2 separate regions of the Homo sapiens genome follow, and region 2 is linked to region 1. Evidence: promoter capture Hi-C in human tissues and cell types (Jung and others, 2019). All regions are on one chromosome and are shown on one strand. Each heading gives the region's core, a stretch centred on a gene start or on the middle of the fragment in contact. The rest is flanking DNA. Distances are from core to core; before and after follow the strand shown. Region 1 holds the start of COX4I2 (cytochrome c oxidase subunit 4I2). Region 2 has its middle 4.6 kb from the start of MYLK2.

What was found. The method cuts DNA at HindIII sites, captures the fragments that hold promoters and counts their contacts. A contact is called where the count stands out against the background at its distance.
Region 2: a contact is called between a fragment that was not itself captured here and the fragment with the promoter of COX4I2 in region 1, in 2 of the 25 tissues and cell types used here (adrenal gland and spleen).

The regions. Positions count from the first base shown.
Region 1 is chr20:31,636,526-31,640,331 of GRCh38, forward strand. It overlaps COX4I2 (cytochrome c oxidase subunit 4I2), which reads left to right and starts at 1,387. Exons shown (of 5, transcript NM_032609.3): 1 at 1,387-1,437; 2 at 2,493-2,574; 3 at 3,408-3,572. The coding sequence starts at 2,493. RefSeq lists a silencer at 1,308-1,447. The HindIII fragment of the contact is 12,374 bases long and covers 1-3,806 here.
Region 2 is chr20:31,812,925-31,816,671 of GRCh38, forward strand. No RefSeq gene overlaps it. Among named protein-coding and RNA genes, the nearest start is that of MYLK2, 4.6 kb to the right of the region's middle. RefSeq lists an enhancer at 2,760-3,562. The HindIII fragment of the contact is 4,370 bases long and covers 107-3,747 here.

The DNA of each region.
Region 1 (3,806 bases), core at 137-2,636:
AAACTCTTGACGTTAGGTGATCTGCTCGCCTCCGCCTCCCAGAGTGCTGGGATTGCAGGCATGAGCCACCACGCCCAGTTTTATAAGTAATTCTTGAATAAATGTGCCTGAGCCTTGTCTATTTTTTTTTTTTTTTTTTTTGAGATGGAGTCTCGCTCTGTCACTAGGCTCGAGTGCAGTGGCATGATCTTGGCTCACCGCAACCTCTGCCTTGCGGGTTCAAGCCATTCTCCTGCCTCAGCCTCCTGAGTAGCTGGGACCACAGGCGCCTGCCACCATGCCTGGCTAATTTTGTTTGCATTTTTAGTAGAGACGGGGTTTCGCTGTGTTAGCCAGGATGGTCTCCATCTCCTGACCTCATGATCTGCCCCCCTTGGCCTCCCAAAGTGCTGGGAATTTTTTTTTTCTTTTTCTTTTTCTTTTTTTCTGAGACAGAGTCTTGTTCTGTTGCCCAGGCTGGAGTGCAGTGGCCCGATCTCGGCTCACTGCAACAGCCGCTTCCCAGGTTCAAGTGATTCTCCTGCCTCAGCCCTCTGTGAAGCTGGGACTATAGGTGCGCGCCACCACGCCCTGCTAACTTTTTTTTTTTTTTTTTTTTTTTTTGAGATGGAGTCTAGCTCTGCTGCCCAGGCTAGAGTGCAGTAGCCGGATCTCGACTCACCGCAACCTCCGCCTCCCGGGTTCAAGCGATTCTCCTGCCTCAGCCTCCTGAGTAGCTGGGATTACAGGTGCGTGCCACCACGCCCAGCTAATTTTTGTATTCTTAGTAAAGATGGGGTTTCACCATGTTGGCTAAGCTGTCTCAAACTCCTGACCTCGTGATTTGCCTGCCTTGGCCTCCCAAAGCGCTGAGATTACAGGCATGAGCCACCGCGCCCGCCCAATTTTTCTATTTTTAATAGAGAAGGTGTTTCGCCATGCTGGGCAGGCTGGTCTCAAACTCCTGACCTCAGGTGATCCTCCCGCCTCGGCCTCCCAAAGTGCTAGGATTACAGGCGTGAGCCACTGCTGGCCTAAAAGATGCTTCTGGAGTAGGAGGCATTGGGCCTGGCTGGAAGGTTTGCGTCTGCAAAGGCCTGAAGAGAACATCCCAGGTGGGAGAAACAGCAAGGAGGGGAGGTGTGGAGGAGGCAGGGAGACCCTGTTCTTGGGACTACTGTCTGCAGAGGGTCTCCAGAGGCAGGACCCCGGTAGGGACACTGATGCAGGAGGCGCTCTGCAGTGCCTCCCCCCAATCTGTGGGCCGGGGTGCCCCCAGGGACGCAGGCTGTGCGCTCCCACGCCCTGCCGAAGCAGGACGTTCCCACGCTGGGGCGGCCCCGAGAAAGGCTGTGGGGCGGGCCGGGGGCGGGCGCCCGCACTCAGGTCCCTCCGCAGCGGGTTCTCAGTTGCTCGCTGGGCAGACCCAGGTCGCGCTCCCACTGCCGAGCCCGCGAGGTGAGTGAGTTGGGGGAGGACCCCGCCACCCAAGCCCGCGCGGGTCAGGGGCGCGGCTCGGTCTCCTGCCTTCGCCGCTGGGTCACGCCCCAGTGGTCCCTGTCTTAGAGGGTTGGGGGGCTTCTTGTAGGTTAGAGTTGAAGACTCCTGGGGAGTCTGCATATGTGTGCCATCTCTTTCCCCAAATATAGATTACATCCTCCCTCTCTTGATATGTGGAGCTCTCCCACCCACTAATCATAATCACTGGCCGGAGCCCCTCTTTTCCAGAAGTGTGGGCCGCCCCCTCCCACTTATCACCTGTAGTGTGCCCCCTCCCTCACTCTATTTGTTGGGTGCCCCTCTCTCTCCCTAGATGTGGGACTCCCCTTCTTTTCCCCAGATGTGTGTCTCCCTCCCTCTGACCCAGTTAAGTCCCCATCCTCTAAAGCCCCTCCCCACCACCATGGATGCCAAACCCTGAGTCTTCCCTGGGGGTGGGAGACTGGGCTCAGCCAGACTGGCTAAGCCCAGTCCCCACCCCAACCAGATCCAGCAGAGCAGGCCTGTGTGCACGTAGGCAGCCAATTAGGGGGGAAGGGGTGGGGGCCAGACCGTCTGTCTGTTCTGCCGGTGCAGGGGCCTCTGGCCCCTGCAGGGAAGAGAGACTCAAGAACTGCTCCCTCTCCACCTGGACCCCACCCAGCTTCCTCTGGGGAGCAAACAAGTGAGCGGGGTTCTCCAATCTGGCCAGACTGAGCTGGGGCTGGCACCAGAACCCAAGCCCTCAGCCTCAAACTCTTCAGACCCTGGCCCAAGACTTAGGCCTCCTCCCACTTCTCAGATGGTGAATTGAGGTCCCAAAAAGGGGCTTCAAAGGTCTAGGACCCCCATTGGCCCCCCGCTGGGGATATCAGACAAAATTAGAAGGGTCAAGGGCATGAGGGTGACCTTGAAACACTGGGACACCCCTACCACTACCATACCAGTGGAAAAGGATTTTTCCATCTGGCCCTGCGGTTTGGGGGCAGAGGGTGATGTGGGGGCAGAACTCATCTATACCTTCACGCCCCCAGATGCTCCCCAGAGCTGCCTGGAGCTTGGTGCTGAGGAAAGGTGGAGGTGGAAGACGAGGGATGCACAGCTCAGAAGGCACCAGTGAGACCTGGACTCCTTCCTCCCTGCCTAACTCCAGAGATAGGGGCAGGGGTCCCCTCTGCAGGCTGCCCCCTTTGCCCTTCCATGCCACCCTGGGCCTGTTCCTACCACACTTCCCATGTTCCCATGATCCCACTCCTTGGTCCAAGGTCAAGTTTCTCCAGGAAATGGAGTGCGCGGGGTGAGCAGACAGTGGTCATCTCCATTCCAAGCTTCCTTAGGAGCCAGCCCCCAAGCCTCAGGCCCCTAGACCTTTTGTTCTGAGGTGGAGGATGCTGACAGAACCTTGGACCCTGATTCCTCCTTTCCAGACCCTAGTTTCAATGCTAGTAAGAAGAAAGAGACCTAAAGTAGGAGAGACTTCAGCCAGATAGCAGAAGGGCCTTGCTGACCCATGGAGAATAACAAAGATAACATTTATTGAGCCCTTACTAGTACCCCAAGCTATTATAAACCTCCTTTTTTTTTTTTTTTGAGATAGAGTCTTGCTCTGTCGCTCAGGCTAGAGTGTTCAGTGGCGCAATGTCGGCTCACTGCAACCTCCGCCTCCTGGGTTCAAACAATTCTCCTGACTCAGCCTCCCGAGTAGCTGGGATTATAGGTGCCCACCACTGCGCCCGGCTAATTTTTGTATTTTTAGTAGAGGAGAGGTTTTACTGTCTTGGCCAGGCTGGTCTCGAACTCCTGACCTCGTGATCCACCCGCCTCAGCCTCCCAAAATGCTAGGATTACAGGCATGAGCCACCAAGCCCGGCCACCTTCTTTATTAATATAGTTAGAGATAGGGTGTCCCAAGGGCAGCCTGGACTCAGCTCCCTCCATTGTGTCTGCAGCCCGTGGTGGGGGGAAGATGTCCCCCTACACCAACTGCTATGCCCAGCGCTACTACCCCATGCCAGAAGAGCCCTTCTGCACAGAACTCAACGCTGAGGAGCAGGCCCTGAAGGAGAAGGAGAAGGGAAGCTGGACCCAGCTGACCCACGCCGAAAAGGTGGCCTGTAAGTGTCAGGGTGGGGCTGGCTGGAGAGAGTGGGTTGGGGGCTGACTTTGGAAAGAATGGCCTGTCAGGGATCAGAGGGCAGAGAGAGGCCCCCAAGACAGCCAGAAACCTCCAAACACCTGAGGGGTGAAGTTCATGCCTTTGTTCGTTTCTTTATTCACTCACCTGTTTGTGCATAGCCTGATGCTAGGCAATGCTGGGGACATGAGGTGAATCACCTGGATAGTTCCTG
Region 2 (3,747 bases), core at 1,042-3,541, 180 kb after region 1:
TACTACCTCTGAAACTCCTCTGTGCCTCAGTTTCCTTTTGGAAATGGGAGTGATTATAGTATCTACCTCATAAGGTTGCTCTGAAGATTAAAAGAGTTAATATCTCTGTCTGACACATTGTAAATACACAATGAACGTTAGTGGCTATTACTACTAACCACAACAGCACCACGTATTGTACTAGGTACTTGGGATATGAAATTGAATGTGATGTAGTCTGCATCTGTTTTGCACTGGCATCTGGACTCCAAGGGTCTCAGATATTGGGATGGGGTACCCAGTCAACACCGTCAGAAAGAATACCTGCTGTGTGTACTATTTTTCCTACCTTATGTTGGAGGGCATTCAAGGGAAACAGAAATTGAAGTTTCTGGCTGGGCGCAGTGGCTCACGCCTATAATCCTAGCACTTTGGGATTATAGGGAGGCCAAGGTGGGTGGATTGCTTGAGGTCAGGAGTTTGAGAGCAGCCTGGCCAAAATGGTGAAACCCTGTTTCTACTAAAAATGCAAAAAATTAGCTGAGCATGGTAGTGTACAACTGTAATCCCAGCTACTCAGGAGGCTGAGGCAGAAGAATCACTTGAACCCAGGAGGTGGAGGTTGCAGTGAGCAGAGATTGCACGACTGTACTCCAGCCTGGGTAAAAGAGCAAGACTCCGGCTCAAAAAAAAAAAAAAAAAAAGAAACATACAAAAAAGAAAATGAAGTTCCTGTCCTAGGAAAGCCTTAGATCAGTGGCTCTTCACCCTGCCACACATCAGAATCTTTTGGAGAGATTTTTAAAAATACCAACATTCTGGGCCCCACTCCAAATGTTCTTAATTGGTCTGAGCTGAGGAGGGGCTCAGACTTCAAGAGTTGTAGAAACTCTCCAGGTGTTTTCAGTGTGCATCAGGGTTGAGAAGTGTGGCCCTGGGTTATAGGGATATGAATCCTGGAAGCTCTCCACTGACTGCACCAGGGTGACTGTCAGGACAGTGCCTCAAATCTGTTCCCTCTTCCAAGGCTCTCAGGATGCTTTCTAGAGAGCTGGCTCTCTGACTTGGTGGTTCTTGAACTTGGATGTGCATGAAAAATCACCTGAAATGCTGGTTTATAGACATTTCTGGGGCCTCATTCCAAGGAAGCTCCATTTTATTTTTTATTTTATTTTTATTTTTGAGACTTAGTCTTGCTCTATTGCCCAGGCTGGAGTGCAGTGGCATAAGCTTGGCTCACTGCAACCTCTGCTTCCTGGGTTCAAGTGATTTTCATGCCTCAGCCTCCCGAGTAGCTGGGATTACAGGTGCTCACCACCATGCCCGGCTAATTTTTATATTTTTAGTAGAGATGGTGTTTCATCATGTTGGCCAGGCTGGGCTTGAACTCCTGATCTCAAGTGATCCGCCTGCCTTGTCCTCCGAAAGTGCTGAGATTACAGGCATGAGCCACTTCGCCCAGCCAGGAGGCTTCATTTTAAACCAACTCTGGGGCTTAGTTACTGAGAAAGCCTTGCAGTAGCTGAATTGCGAGTTCTCTGAGGCCCTGAGCCAAGAAGTCCTTTCATGGTGTTTTATAGCTCTTACCATTTTCTCTCTGAAGAAATCTGTGTCCACGTTGATATATTTGGAATTACTTATTGATCTGATTAAGAGTTACAAGTCATTTCCAAAAAAGTTGGAAAATCTAGATGAATAAAGAATAAAAATAATCTCTATTTCTACGCCTGTAAATATGTCCATTTATATCCCTCCAGCCATCTTCTTTGTAAATATTTTGAACAAAAAGGATCCCGCTCTATGGCTGATTTTTATTTAATTTATTTATTGAGACAGGGGCCCACCCTGTCACCCAGGCCATAGTGCAGTGACACAATCATGGCTCACTGCAGCCTCAACCTCCTGGTGTCAAGCAATCCTTCTACCTCAGCCTCCTGAGTAGCTTGGGACCACAGGTGTGCACTGCCACGCCTGGCGAATTTTTAAATTTTTTTGCAGAGATGGGGTCTCACCATGTTGCGCAGGCTGGTCGTGAACTCCTGGGCTCAAGTGATCCTCCAGCCTCGGCCTCTTAACATGCTAGGATTACAGGCATGGTTGATTTTTATAGTCTTTTTTCACCTAAAATGTAATATGCAGTGATTCTATAGCTCTCCCCCAATTTCATCTCTGTGTCCTGAAAGTGACCAGTTTAGTCCTTGTCACAGTAGAGCCCCCAGTAATTAATCTTAGCAATAAAATTCTATAACTGTGGGATGGAACAGTGTGTCAATTGCGTTTTCGGAGAAACCTATGTCCAATTTGCACACAGAACGCCCACAGACCTCTGCTTACTAGCTTGGCTGGAAGGACAGGGTCTGCTGTAAGGACAGCAACCTTACCTAGGGCTTTTCCAGAGGCCTGAGAGGTCCTGCCAAGGCCCTGGGCTCAGGGGTCCAAGGTGGGAGAGGGCGAGAGAAAACAACGTGCTAATGCAGCCTTGAGTGGCTCTCAAACAGGAGCAGAGGGAAGGCTGTGAGGGGAGTTGGCTGCTCTCTTTGGAGTCAGAAAGGTTGTTGCTCAACTCTTTGGATTTTCCATCACAGCTGGGCAGGGAGAGGGTCAGACTGGGCATGACTTCTCCGAACAGGTCCTTTTAAAGCCTCTTGGCTGAACTGATTTCCTCTCCAGAGCCAAGGAAGCAGTGCCTGGGTGAAGTTAACCCCTTCACCCCCAACACATTCTTCCAGAGCTAGGTGAGCCTGGAAGCCTAGGCTCCTGGAAGGCAGAGCTACACAGGGCAAGAGGCCTAAGGAGCCGTGAACTCTGGCTGGAGAAACCTTCCCTCTGGCCTTGTTAAATCCAACAGGCATAATTGCATCCTGCTGACCTTAATTCCCCTGGCGGGTTTAATTGGTCTTGGCATTGCCCCACTTCCTGTCCTGCCCCTGTAGAGGCAAAGAGGGTGTCTGCACAGCTGGTGCAGGGCGGGGAAGCCCCTTCTTGAGGGTGGGCAGGGGCTCTGGCAGCCCCTAGGTGGGTGGAGGAAGTTTCCCCGTGCCCCACCCCTGTGCCTCCAAGGGAGTGCTGAGAAGCTTGGGGACTCCCAGGGAGCAGCTGGCTGGAGCAGGCAGTCCCGTAGATTCGGAACCAGGCCAGACTCTCATCCCAGTGGGAGGCACTGCAGGGGAGCTGGCGGGAACAGATGAACCCTCTACCTGGGGTGTCCACGACATTATCAGGCCCCCACAGTGCTGTAGGTACTGTGCCATTGGGCACTCTTTACATGTGTGCTGGCTAAATGCTCGCAGCCATGCTGTGAGAGGGAGGCAATGGGGCAGAGCAGTTATGAGCAGAGCCTTGGGTTAGATGGGTCCAATCCCAACTCTATGACTTTGCCCTGTGACTCAGTTTTCCTGTCACATCTGTGAAATGGGGATTAAAGAGCTGACATTTATACAGCACTCGCTATGCTCACACTCACTGTTGTAATGCTTTATCTACCTCCTGGGAGGCAGATGCTCTCCTTACGGATGAGGAAACAGGTGAAGACATTGTTCCAAGCTCACAGTTACTGGTCGCAGCGCTTCATTGACAGATCTCCTAATCACTGCATGGTAGGGAGTTGTAAGACTCGAAGGAAGGATACTCATGAAGCTGCTTACCCCAGGGCCTGGTCCATTTTAGAAAGAGTTCAATAAGAGTAATTATTTGGGAATAATAATTATAACAAAAGTAGCACTAATGCCCCTGAAGTTGTCCCAGGCTGGATTTTGGTCTCATTGGGAG